Linked DNA regions of Homo sapiens: regions 1 and 2 are each linked to region 3. The links are contacts of gene promoters, found by promoter capture Hi-C in human tissues and cell types (Jung and others, 2019). All regions are on one chromosome and are shown on one strand. The core of a region is centred on a gene start or on the middle of the fragment in contact, and the rest is flanking DNA. Distances in the headings are between cores, read along the strand shown.

Region 1 (4,543 bases), core at 1,644-4,143, 500 kb after region 3:
CACACACACACACACCACACACACACACACACACACACATATATATATATAGAGAGAGAGAGAGAGGGAGAGAGAGAGAGAGGATAAAGAATTGGTCATGTGAAGAAATCCCAGGATCTGCACTCAGTATGCTTGAAGAAATCCCAAGATCTAATTATGTATATACTTTCCTTTTGTTTCTCTGGAGAACCCTAACAAAATAGGAAGACTAAAAGTGAACAATTTTACTAATGGATGTATTTAAATTTCAGGTAATAATATGCCAATAGTAAAAATACCACTTCCTTGTTTTCCCTTGGGTTTCTTCCTATTTTCTTTACCCAAATATAAGATGCTAGCACTTCTCTATTGTTTTTTATGTAATGTTCCCGGGAACCATGATATTAAACAAAAGACTAAACCATATGTTCCAGAGGTTGAACCTTCCACCCAGATTGGGAATCCAGCACATTCTCTCCATATGTAGATCTGCCATTGGCAAGCTAGAGATCCAAGAGAGCAAGTGATACAATTCCAGTCCAAGCATACAGGTCTGAGAACAAGGAGAGCCAGTGGTATAAGTTCTAGCCCAAGTGCAGGAAAAGATTGATGTCTCAACTGGAAAACTGTCAGTCAGAGTGAGCAAATTCTCTCTCATCTTGCCTTTGTTTCTGTTTAGGCTTCAAACGGTTGATGAAGCCTGCCCCCATTTGGAAGGCCAATTTACTTTTTTACTTAGTCTGTTGATTCCAGGGTTAATCTCACAAGAAACATCCTTACAGACACAGCCATCGTAATGTTTAACCAGATATCTGGGAACCCCAAAATTCCATTCAGGTTGGCAAATAAAATTAACCATAACAAATAGAGACATGATCAGACATATTTTAAAAGGATTACTCAAACTATTATGTAAAGAATAGAATAGGCCGGGCGCGGTGGCTCACGCCTGTAATCCCAGCACTTTGGGAGGCGGAGGCGGGCGGATCACGAGGTCAGGAGATCGAGACCATCCTGGCTAACACGGTGAAACCCCGTCTCTACTAAAAATACAAAAAAAAAAGCCGGGCGTGGTGGCGGGCGCCTGTAGTCCCAGCTACTTGGGAGGCTGAGGCAGGAGAATGGCGTGAACCCGGGAGGCGGAGTTTGCAGTGAGCTGAGATCGCGCCACTGCCCTCCAGCCTGGGCGACAGAGCGAGACTCTGTCTCAAAAAAAAAAAAAAAAAAAAAAGTAGAATAGACTGCAGGTGGTTAAGGATAGACGAATGTTATATCTTTAGAGTTAAATTTTGTTGTGAAATCTTTTTAAAAATCTTATGTACCATCTTTTTACCTTACTTATTATTAGTATCTTATCTCATTTTCTTAAATGTGTGTTTTCATAAAACTGTATATTGAAAAGAGAAAAAATTTAAGTTTCTATTTTATTTTCACTTTTAACAAAGCTTCAGTTTCATGGTAACTCCTGTTAATCTCATGAGATTTGCTTTTGCTATATCTGAAACTTTCTGTAGGTTATTTTGGTAAACATACACTAACATGAATTCTTAGGCTCCATTGCAATTAAAATATGTCTTGTTTGATTCTTTGACTTAAAATATTTCTTGTTTGATTCATTTGGCTTTTAATAAATTATTCACACATCATTACAGTTAAATTGTAAACCCTTAAAAAACTAATCTTAAGCAGAGGTAAAAAATACATGTAACTAAGTCAGTTAACAATATTGTGATTTATTCATTTATTTGTATCAGACAAATATTTATTAGGCACTAACTTTGTGACAGAAGCTTTACTATTCACTAATGTGAAGTGATTAATAACTAATTTACTTTTCCTCATACATGCATAGGAAAAGAGAGAGGCAAGAACAAATAAGCAAGTAATCAACAATAAATAAATAAATAAATAAATAAATAAATAAAAACTATAAAAAGATGTAAAAAGAAATAGATAGACTACTAAGATAGAAATAAAAGGAGACCAAACTTAGATGATAAAAGAAGGATTTTCTACAGAAGTGATGTTTAAGCTGAGACCCAAGAATAAGAAACCGCCAAGCTTGCAAGAATGGAAAGAAATCTATTATAGACAGTAGGGACAATACAAATAAAGCCCCCAAGGTAAGAATGACTTTGATGAATTTGAGGAACTTAAATGCCAGTGTTGCCTGAGCATAACCGTTAAGGGCTAGATTGGAGGACTGCAGTTGCAGTGTACAAATAATATCTGTGGTTTCTAATGCTCAGGACATGTTTAAACCATTCCAGTAAATTTGGTGGAAAAAAACACAATATTTAGATAAACATTTTTAAGAAGATTTAAAATAAGCACTCTGCCTAGTTTAAATAAAATATATGAATTATTTGATTATATTAATCAAATTGGATGTTTAATTTTTTTCTGTAGGCACGATATAAGGAATCGCAGGAACAAAGCTTTTCATTTGCTACATCATCTTAATTTACATGCTTCATAGCAGGAAATCCGTTTCTCTGTGTGTGTGTTTGATCTTGCCATTTTATTTCATCTTACCAAATTCTTTATAAAGGGCTATCAAATATAAACCTTGGGAAATATATATATAAAATCTATTTCCATTTTTATCCTGTTACTGAGGTCTTTTATATTGAAAAAAAATCCCTAAGGTTGGTCTCATTTTGTATGCAGCTTGAAGATACAGTTTAATGTCTGCAGAGATACATTTATTTATTTTAACTTTGATCATAGTTGAAAACCTAATAGTGTGTTTTAGGCATATTTTCCCCTTAGGTTGTAAAATATTCTTTTTAAAATTTTGACCCAAAAGAATCTAATTTTAATGCTGTATATATAAATGTATATTTCTCCAATAAAAACGAATTGGAAATCCTTTTATCACATAAAAATATAACCAAGAGGGATTTATGCTTGTTGTAGTGTACAAGCTAAGGAATATAAATTGTTAGCCACATTATAAAGAATTTTAACAATGACTATAAGAATCTATGCATTTAAAACAGTAATTTATTTTAAAGTATTAATTTTTTCTAGCAATCTCATTTTCTGCATTTTAACATAAAAACATGGATAAGTTGACCTGTTATGTCTGAATGTCACATTTTAATGTAACAGAAATTACAAATTCAGGTTCAGATGTGCATAAATCAAATTTTCGTAATCAAATATCAGAATATCCCATTGAGTAAAAATACACTGTTACTTCTCATTTTTAATGGGAAAACCTAATGAACAATTAGGTTAAACTATTCAGAAACTAACATGGATGCATTTAATAGTTCTTTCATTGTCAGTTGACTGAAATAATTTGGCATGTGAAATATATTATGAGATTTTAAAAATACATTTTCTTTGTTAACTCATGTATACCACTATGTGTCAAACTCTGCTAGGACCAATCCCAGCTGTCACAAAACCAACACTAACTGGGTAAGTGTAAGGTATTCAGACAGGTCAGAATAATGGCAGCACTTAACACAGTGTACTGCTTGAAAAGGAATTAGTATCTACTCTGGTAATTCAATCAGTGGTGCATCAAAATTACCTAGAGAACACTTCAAAAATTCAAAAGCCCTATCTCAAATTGAAACAAAATGGGGGATGGTTTCTGCTGTAAATCAGGGAGTGATGTGATCAAATATACAAATAAGGGAGGTAATTCAAGCATCAGAATATAAAATAGATGAGGTGATACAGGAAGTAACTATACCATTGCAGTAGATGCTTCAGTCATTTGGCTGAGAATCATGGTGCATGAGAGTAGAAAAGGAAGAGAGGAACTTAATTATGTAGAGGAAAACAATTGTTTAAGAATCTGGAACAAATATGTGCTGAAATTGATATATGCTGTGCAATATGTTAGCCAGTAGCCGTGTATATTTATTGAACTCTTGAGATGTAGCTGGCTTAAGTTGAGATGTGTGTTATATGTAAAATATACTTTAGATTTTTGAAGACCTGCTAAGAATAAAAAAGAATGTCAAATATCTTATGAATAGTATTACATTGATTCACATTTTAAAATGACAATAATGTGGACATGTTGGAAAAATACAGTATTAATTTCCTTTTCACTTTTTAAAATGAGACTAATAAGAATTTGAAATTACACATGTGACTCTCACTTTGACTAGTATTATATATGTATCTACTGAACAACACTACCTTTGATAATTATCTAAACTTCATAATTTTAAATGTCACTTAATCTTTCTAAGATTCTGTTTCACTTCAGCAGAATGTAAATAACTACATTTTCTAAAAATTCCACAGGCTTATTTGGAAGAACAATTAAAACAATATATTAAAAACTGCATAAATAACAAAACATTATATAAATTACTTCAAAAGACATTAAGTGAATAAAATGCAAAATTTACCCTAGGTTTCTTTGAAAATAACTTATATGTAAATGTAACTTTCACGATGTGACAGCTATTTGATGGCTACAAATAAGCACAGACTATGACCCTATTTAGGAAGGGCAAATATTTCATTCTTGTAAATGCCTAGAGAAATATAAGACGTATCTAATGATAACATGTAATTACCACCTAATAACCTT
Region 2 (4,720 bases), core at 1,189-3,688, 340 kb after region 3:
TATTGTTTTACTGAAAATACAATTTTTCAGGAAATGTTGGTATTTTATATTTATTCTGAAAAGTATTTGAAAAATGAGATTACTCTATCAAAAGAATTAGACTTTAAAATAAGAATACATATTTTCTTAGTCCATTGTATAAATTTGAAAAATATGCAATATAGTAAAATATAAAAATTCGTTTGCAATGTATTTTTATCAGCTGATCTCCTGCAAGAGAACTTCCTTGACTTCTCCACCTAAAATAAGTCCTTTTCCCTGTATTATCTCTCACTTCTCCTTGTTTCCTTCTTATATTTACCAAAATTACTGCCAACATTTGGGTTTTGATAAAAGGAAAACTTCCGCCGAATTAAATTTAAAGGAGTTTAATTGAGCAATGAATGATTCGTGAATGGGACAGCCCCCAGAATCACAGCAGATTCACAGAGGCTCCCGCACAGCCACGTGGTGGAAGAAGATTTATAGACAAAAAAGGGAAAATGATGTACAGAAGTCTACAATCAGTTACAGAAACAGCTAGATTGGTTACAGGTTGGCGTTTGCCTCATTTGAACACAGGTTGAACACTTAGCTATGAATGGTTGAAGTACGGCCGCTGGGATTGGCCAAACCTCAGTTATTGTTACAGGCTTATACTGCTAAGTTAGGTTTTCGATGTCGTCTGACTATTTAAGCTAGGTTAGTTCATCCAGAAGGACTCAAATATAGAAGTACAGAGTCCTTCTCAGGCCGTATTTACTTTAATAGTGTATTGCCTTTAATGCTTATTGTTCTACTTCAGATACAATTTATTTTTAGGAAACTTTGATATTTTATATTTATTCTAAAAACTATTCTTTTCATTTGGGTTGTCAAATTAACCAGCATATATGAATATATCTAATTTTACCAGGTCCTCTACCTTACTGTTTTAATCAAATTTCTGTGTTTTTCTACTTTTTTTTTTTTTTTGAGATGATTTTGCTTTAGTACAAGATAGTTTTCCTAAATGGTTCATTGTTGCTTTGGACAGAATTATTCTTTTTCTTCAAAAACATTTAAAATTCATTAGTTCACTTTCAATTTTGTATTTTTCTTATATATAAGTTTATGTCTGACAATGTATGTAAATTCTGGGTTTGTAGCCTTCAAGGTTGATATTGTTGCATAGTTTACTAGCAATTCATCTTTATTTCACCTCTTTTCCTTTTCAGTTGCTCTGTGTAATATAAATTTTGGATTGATTCTCTCCCCCCGCCTTTTTTTTTTTTTTTCTGAGATGTAGTCTCGCTTTGTCACCCAGGCTGGAGCACAGTGGCACGATCTCAGCTCACTGCAACCTCCACCTCCCAGGTTCAAGAGAGTCCCCTGCCTCAGCCTCCTGAGTAACTGGGACTACAGGCGCATGCTACCAAGCCCAGCTAATTTTTTGTAGTTTTAGTAGAAACAGGGTTTTACCGTATTAGCCAGGATGGTCTCCATCTCCTGCCCACCTCGTGATCTGCCCACCTCGGCCTCCCAAAGTGCTGGGATTACAGGCGTGAGCCACCACGCCCCTCTCCCTTTTTCAAAAAAGAAGTCCACGTTACTCACAATGCTTAGAGGTTTCAATATTTTCTTCTGTTGCCTGAAGCAGATTATTTTCAGTCTGGTTCTTTGAATATTCAAAATGATATTTCCTATTTCCCTGTTTATTAGCTTTCAATATTTATTCACTCAGTTAATTATTATTTTTCTGTTACTCATGCATGAACAAAGATATTCATTTAGACTCTGTTTATTTGTTAAGAACTATGTTGGTGGATTGTTTAGTCCTTACTCACTCCCCTGGCTTAAGTCAAACCCTCTTCTCACATATACACTGGGCAAAATTAGCATGTAATCAGATTTTCAATGCTACAATCTATTACTGCTTGATAAAAGCTGACTTCTTCATTCTCCAATTCCTAGGTGCCTGAAAAACAAGACTAGCTAAAGCTTCTGGAAAAATAGAATTAGACCTGGTGTCTTTCAGCACCTGTACTTGTGTGTCCGGAATTGGTGGGTTCTTGGTCTCCCTGACTTCCAGGCGGTATGTCCGCCTCAAGGTTCTTAAAGGCGGTATGTCAGGAGTTTGTTCCTTATGATGTTCGGATGTGTTGGCAGTTTTTTCCTTCTGGTGGGTTTCGCGGTCTCCGCCGGCTCAGGAACAAAGCTGCGGACCTTCACGGTTAGTGTTAGGGCTCTTAAGGCGGCACGTCTGGAGTTGTTCATTCCTCCCGGTGGGTTCGTGGTCTCTCTGGCTTCAAGAGCGAAGCTACAGACCTTCACGGTGAGTGTTACAGCTCATAAAGGCAGCGTGGACCCAAAGAGTGAGCAGCAGCAAGATTTATTGCAAAGAGAAAAAGTACAAAGCTTCCACAGCATGGAAAGGTACCCGAGGGGGTTGACACTGCTGGCTCGTGCAGCCTGCTTTTATTCTGTTATCTGGCCCCACCCACATCCTGCTGATTGGTAGAGCCCAGTTGTCTGTTTTGACAGGGCGCTGATTGGTGCCTTTACAATCCCTGAGCTAAACACAAAGGTTCTCCAAGTCCCCACCAGATTAGCTAGATACAGAGTGTCGATTGGTGCATTCACAAACCCTGAGCTAGACACAGGGTGCCAATTGGTGTGTTTACAAACTTTGAGCTAGATACAGAGTGCCAATTGGTGCATTTATAATCCCTGAGCTAGACATAAATGTTCTCCACGTCCCCACCAGGCTCAGGAGCCTAGCTGGCTTCACCCAGTGGATCCCACACCGGGGGTGCAGGTGGAGCTGCCTGCCAGTCCCTTGCAGTGCGCCCACACTCCTCAGCCCTTGGGTGGTTGATGGGACTGGGCGCCGTGGAGCAGGAGGCAGTGCTTGTCGGGGAGGCTCAAGGCCACACAGGAGCCCATGGAGGTGGGGGAGGCTCAGGCATGGCGGGCTGCAGGTCCCGAGCCCGAGCCCTGCACCGAAGGAAGGCAGCTAAGGCCCCCCAGGGAGAAATTGAGCACAGCAGCTGCTGGCCCAGGTGCTAAGCCCCTCACTGCCCAGGGCCAGCGGAGCCGGCTGGCCACTCCGAGTGCTGGGCCTGCCGAGCCCACGCCCACCGGGAACTCGCGCTGGCCCGCAAGCGCCCCGTGCAGCCCCGGTTCCCGTCGGCGCTTCTCCCTCCACACGTCCCTGCAAGCTGAGGGAGCCAGCTCCGGCCTTGGCCAGCCCAGAAAGGGGCTCCCACAGTGCAGTGGCGGGCTGAAGGGCTCCTCAAGTGCCGCCCAAGTGGGAGGCCAGGCAGAGGAGGTGCCGAGAGCGAGCGAAGGCTGTGAGGACTGCCAGCACGCTGTCACCTCTCACTTGCTTTAAGATTGCCATACTTTAGATGTTCTTCTATGAACGGTCCTGTCTCCATCTCCCTATTCCTTGTGAGCTTTTTCTGGACGTGGTAGTTTGTCTACATGTAGGGAAAGACGCACTTTTACAATTTGAACAGAGTATTTAAGAGCACCCATAAAATAATTTAGTTACATAATTTGTAGTTTTCTGTAGCTCTTGCGTTTCTAAATTAGAGAGAGGCCAGTTGAGAAAGAGGCAACTTCTCCCTACACATTTCATACGGACTTGTGCTGTTTCTTTTAGTATAGCATAAGGTAACAATAATCAGTTGAAATTTATTGAAATTATTTTTATTCATTTTTATCAGCCGTACCATTAGTCTGATTTTCTTCAAGATTATGAAAACTGATTGACTGTTGGTCCTAATTTTCAACGTCTGTGTGTGTGTGTGTGTGTTTGTGTGTATATCTCTGTGTGTTTTTCTTTTTTTATCCTGTCTTGGTAATTGTTTTGGTAGGAATTTAGAAAAGGGAGCCAGTGGATGCTGGCCAGATGCCATATTAAACTTAAATTTGCAGGCACTAGGTTTTAAAGTCTAGAGTAACCATTGCCAAATTCCTTTCACAAATATTCTCCCTGCAATACAACTCAACCAGTGATATGTTAATGTGGCTGATATTACCATCTTTTGGTTTTACTAATTTTATCTGTGAAATAGTAATTTAGTTTTGAGTTTTTCATACATGTGTGTCTAGACTAGTGGGATTAGACATTGTACAATATTAAATCGATTTTGTTTGTTTTTATTATATGTTAAGGCATAGAAACTGATGATATAAAAAGACACAGTTCTTAATAGTTTCTTAGAGGAAATATGATCAGACATCTCTCAAAGTTGTCTATAATGTGTTGTATGAATTCCATAAATAAGGTACAAGTAGAGATCAGAGGACATTGGAAAACATTTATGTCTGGGCTCTTAGAGAAGACTTCATAAAAGCATATTATCAGAACAAGGCACTGCAAAAGTGATAGGATTATAAAATGGATTGTGAGAGGCATTTCAAGGGAAAAAACTGCTGTGAGCAAATTTTCAGAGTTGAGATAATGCAAGTCATTCCACTTCTGGATACTGGGTTGTGTAAAAGAAATAAGGGAGATGTTCAGAAAATGTGAACAACAATGTTTTGTGACTAGATAATTGTATTGGATAAATAGTTGTAGATAAACTTGTAAATACAGAACTGGATAGATTTTGGATGATATTAAATTTGGACTTTTTTTATGGACATATGCCATGTAAAGTGTTCAACTAAGCTATGTAACCAAAGATAAAAAAGTATAATTCTAGAATGAGGGTAAAGGGCCAGCTAACTAGGGATCAAATGGAAGTAAAGG
Region 3 (4,336 bases), core at 1,108-3,607:
GTCATCATGCGAAAAGTTTCTACTTGTTAAAATAACCACACTATTGGCTAAATAATTTTCGATAATCCTCTTTTGAAATTGTCCAAAAAATTTTTATGTACTCTATCTCTCTATATATTTTCTGTATTAGTTTATTTTGCCATATCTTGTTTTGTAAAACTAAAATGTATACATATTGCACTGATTGAATACTTTCCATTTCACAGAATGAATGATCTTCACCTGTTTCCCAAATTAAATTCACTCATATATAATGCAAATGTAATACTATTGACACTAAATCTGAAGATTATCCCACAGGCAAAAAAAAACAAGCAAACCAACAAAAGTCCATGATCTCCTACAACAAGTATCTGAATGATTTCTTTCTGTTTATTTCTCTATAAATACTTGAATAATAGTGCATTAGGAAACAAAATAAAACAAAACAGTAATATTCTCTTAAAATCACACAGACATGATTTGTAAAAATTTGTAAAAATTTGTTTGCCACTTTAGTTAATCTACAAATATTTTTTGGCTAAATTATACCAAAAATAATGGTGTTAGGATTGTAACTTAAGAAAAATACGATTTTTGAAAAACAGGCTTAAATGTCTCTAAAAAGTCTAGAGTCTAATGTTTTCAAGTTTTAAAATACATAAATGGTTAAATTTAACTTTTTTGTCTGTTTCCAGTTAACTCATTACATTACAGTAGAGGAATATGTAGAAGTTAGCTTTTTAACCTAAACAGAGGAATTGGTGATAGCTTTAGAAATCATGTTTCCATAAATCAGTTTTGAGTTACAGGCTGCCTGCATCATCAAGACTTGAATTTGCTGTCTGTCCTACTATTCTTGATTTTTTTTTTTTTACTCTAAATAAGAAAGGCACTAGGAAAGTCTTAGAGATCGTTTTCTTTGCTGCTATCCCTAGGCAAGAAGCAGGAATTAGCCTTGTAATCCGATCCTTTTAGTCTCTGCATTTAATTTTAAGCAAGAAACCAGGAGACTAAAGATGTAAGACTGACGTAGAACAGCAGAGGGCAGTATTTACTCATGACTGAACCCTCTCTGGGCGCAGAAAGTTTTACGTTTGTGAGGGATCCTTGTGGCAGAAATGTATGACATATGCCCTGTATTTGCATTGTTTGGCTTGAATTCTTATTTTCTAGGTTGGTTCCCTTAAAGGGGAAAAATATCGATCTGATTCCTAGTAACGTTTTTCTTCTTTTAAAGAAACGATGCATGCCACCACAAAAATTAACTGCAGTGAATAGTGGGTGAGTTGATCTGAGTGCATTAAGTGGCATGTGGGTATTTTTAAAAACTTAAGCTTAAATATTATTTTATTTATTTCTACTTTCTCGTATCTATTTCTCCCAGACTGAAAAGCAAAATAAAACTTTATTAGGTTTCCTTTGACTAAAAAATGTGGAGGTGGAAATACTCCATCAGGGATCAAAATTCCAAACTAACTTTGCAACAGGAAAAGATCTCCCTCTTTTCAAAGGGCTGCCATTATTATTGTTGTTGAAACCCTAAGGTTTGGGCTACTGGCACCTGGAATCCAGTTGGGAAAGAAAACAAAACAAACACTGAGTTCCCCTGGCCTTTCCTATAGTAGGAAGTCCAAAGTGCCCTTGCTACGGAGGCCTCCTGCCCCCTAGTCACCTGGAAGGTGGGGGAGAGGGGCAAGTGAGTGAAGATTTAGAGTTTAGCTCGCCCTAGACAGCAGGGAGCCCACTGTGTAGAAAGAGGAGCAAAGGGGAGGATTTGATTTGGATTCTGTGGGATCACACTGTATGGCAGCTCTATCCCTTGCATAAAGAGAGAAGGGGCAGGAAATGGTTAAAGCAAATCTGCACTGTGCATTCCCAGACAGGCTTTGCTTAATCCTTCCTCCCCGCTTTAACAGACCCTCACCCCCCGCCTTTCTTTTATTTCTCTCGACCCCCTTACCCCTGAGTTATTACTAGCATAACAACCTAACGGTCTTCCCCCAGACCCTGCCACTAAAGTTATTTATCTGCAAACCTGACCCCACCCCCATCTATTCTGCGGCAGCCTTTTGCTGTTATTGCTCTGACGCCGGCCAAGATTTGGCCGAAAAGGAAAAAAAAAAAAAAAAAAGAAAAGAAAAAAAATCACCCCCCTTTTTAGCGCCTCCGCCTCGCTGTGCTCCCACACCAGACCGCCTACAGCCCTCCGGGAGGCTGAAGTGATTAGCATCCCGAGAAGCCAGTCGGAGGCCGGGCAAGGCGGAGGGCGCTCGCGGTAGGAGTGCCGGTCGGGGCTGCTTCAGCTCCGGCCCAATGGGGCTGGGGCGAGGGAGGGGCAGAAGGTGACAGGACTGGGAGCTAGGGGGAGTCCAGGCGAACTAAAGTGCGGGGATCAATGAGTGTCGAGCAAAGTTTCTGAGTGCTGCTCCAGCTCGCGGTCTTCCCTCCCCCTCTGTTTGTGTTTCGGCGACGCGCTGTGTGTGTGTGTGTGCGTGTGTATGTGTGTGTGTGTGCATGCCTGTGCGGCGGGGAAGGGGCGGGGAGAGTGTGAGGGACCAGGCGGGAGGTGGAGAAGGGCTCGCGGAGCCCTAGCTCCACCGCAGTCCAACCTTCGGCCCCGGCCGGCGAGAGGGAGAGCGCTGACAGGCGCCGTCCGGAGCTGCGGAGGGCGTCACTACAGCCCAGCGCCGACTTCGCCGCCTCCGCTGCCAACTGTGAAGGAGAGAGAGGCATCAACCACCCCCCGCCCCAAACAAAAAGCCTTGTGGATTACAAAGTGAAACTGACACGGGACAATAAAAGCAGAGATAGCGAGGGCAGGGGCGAGGCGCGCTAGAGTGGGCTTCTGACTGGGGCCGCCGGAGAACGACCCCCCCTGGCATGGTGAGGGGAGGGCGACTCGGGGACCGCACGCTGTTTCTGCCCGACCCCTGCGAGGCCGAGAAGAAAGGGGAAACTGCGTTCGATTTGGATGTACAAATAATGGGTCGGCAGGCGCCCCGGCAGAGGTGAAAAATGCCGAGGAGCCCTGGCTGTTGTTTGTGCCGGACCACGGGCTTGAAGCCGCAACAGGGGCGGCGGCGGCGGCGGCTGCAGGAGGGGAAGGGGCAGAGTTGAGCGCTCCCGGGTACGGGAGCCAGAGCGCGAACGCTAGCGCTTGGAACGCAGTTCCCGAACTGCCTGCGCGCAGACGCCGCCGCCTGGGCCTCAGCGGCCACTGCCGGCGCCCTGTTGGAGGGGCGTTGCAGCCTGGTTTTTGAGGAGTGGGGACTCCAGGAATTCCATCGCCTCCAGCTTTTGGGAAAGAAATTCGATTCTCCCGGTTCCCCACCACCCCTTCCCCGGTGCGCAGTTGTGCTTGGACGTTTGTTCCTCCCTCTTCACGTTCTTCGCTGCGGGTAAGTTCTAAAGTTTCTGAAGACCGTTCTTTGCAATGATTCCTCATATACCTTAGATACAGGCAACTTCTCCCAACTCTCATCCACCCGGGTGAAAACGCTCAGACTATCTGGATTCAAAAACAAAGTAAAAGGGGGCATATATAAGAGGCTTGAGAAACTTTTCTGGGAACTCAGCTCACAGGAGTGTCCCGCGGAATGCCCTGCCGCTTTTCGCCACAGCATCTCTCTTGCACTCCGCGTTCAACTGGCTACCTAGAGTCTTTTGCTGATGCTACTTGCTTTTGCCGGACTGGAGGTTCTTTGAAATAGCAGAGGTCTCAGACCAAGCCGTCAGCTGAATCTTTGCTGGCGCTCCTTAATCCCTGTAAATATCATTGCGTTTGCTTCACCCCTTCCTTCTCTTTATCACATCGTTTTAGGGAGCCAGGACCATGGACTTAGCACCAGACAGGGCTACTGGCCGCCCGTGGCTCCCGTTGCACACTCTATCAGTATCTCAGCTCCTTCGAGTGTTTTGGCTACTGTCATTGCTTCCGGGGCAGGCCTGGGTCCACGGGGCCGAGCCGCGCCAGGTGTTCCAAGTGCTGGAAGAGCAACCTCCAGGCACTCTGGTAGGCACCATCCAGACGCGCCCCGGCTTCACCTACAGGCTCAGCGAAAGCCACGCCCTGTTTGCCATAAACAGTAGCACCGGAGCCCTGTACACCACCTCCACCATCGACCGCGAGAGCCTGCCCAGCGACGTGATCAACCTGGTGGTCCTTTCCAGCGCGCCCACCTACCCCACCGAAGTGCGAGTGCTGGTGCGGGACCTCAATGACAACGCCCCCGTTTTCCCGGACCCCTCTATCGTGGTCACTTTCAAGGAAGACAGTAGCAGCGGACGCCAAGTCATCTTAGACACCGCCACCGACTCGGACATCGGCTCAAACGGTGTGGACCACCGCTCCTAC

Evidence for each region. Contacts are between HindIII fragments. The study calls those that stand out against the background at their distance.
Region 1: a contact is called between a fragment that was not itself captured here and the fragment with the promoter of FAT4 in region 3, in 1 of the 25 tissues and cell types used here (H1 embryonic stem cells).
Region 2: a contact is called between a fragment that was not itself captured here and the fragment with the promoter of FAT4 in region 3, in 1 of the 25 tissues and cell types used here (mesendoderm cells).

The regions. Positions count from the first base shown.
Region 1 is chr4:125,814,632-125,819,174 of GRCh38, forward strand. No RefSeq gene overlaps it. Among named protein-coding and RNA genes, the nearest start is that of LINC02379, 250 kb to the right of the region's middle. The HindIII fragment of the contact is 4,423 bases long and covers 683-4,543 here.
Region 2 is chr4:125,648,952-125,653,671 of GRCh38, forward strand. No RefSeq gene overlaps it. Among named protein-coding and RNA genes, the nearest start is that of MIR2054, 140 kb to the left of the region's middle. The HindIII fragment of the contact is 5,175 bases long and covers 1-4,720 here.
Region 3 is chr4:125,312,598-125,316,933 of GRCh38, forward strand. FAT4 (FAT atypical cadherin 4) reads left to right here and starts at 2,358. Exons shown (of 18, transcript NM_001291303.3): 1 at 2,358-3,380; 2 at 3,803-4,336. The coding sequence starts at 3,815. The HindIII fragment of the contact is 10,793 bases long and covers 422-4,336 here.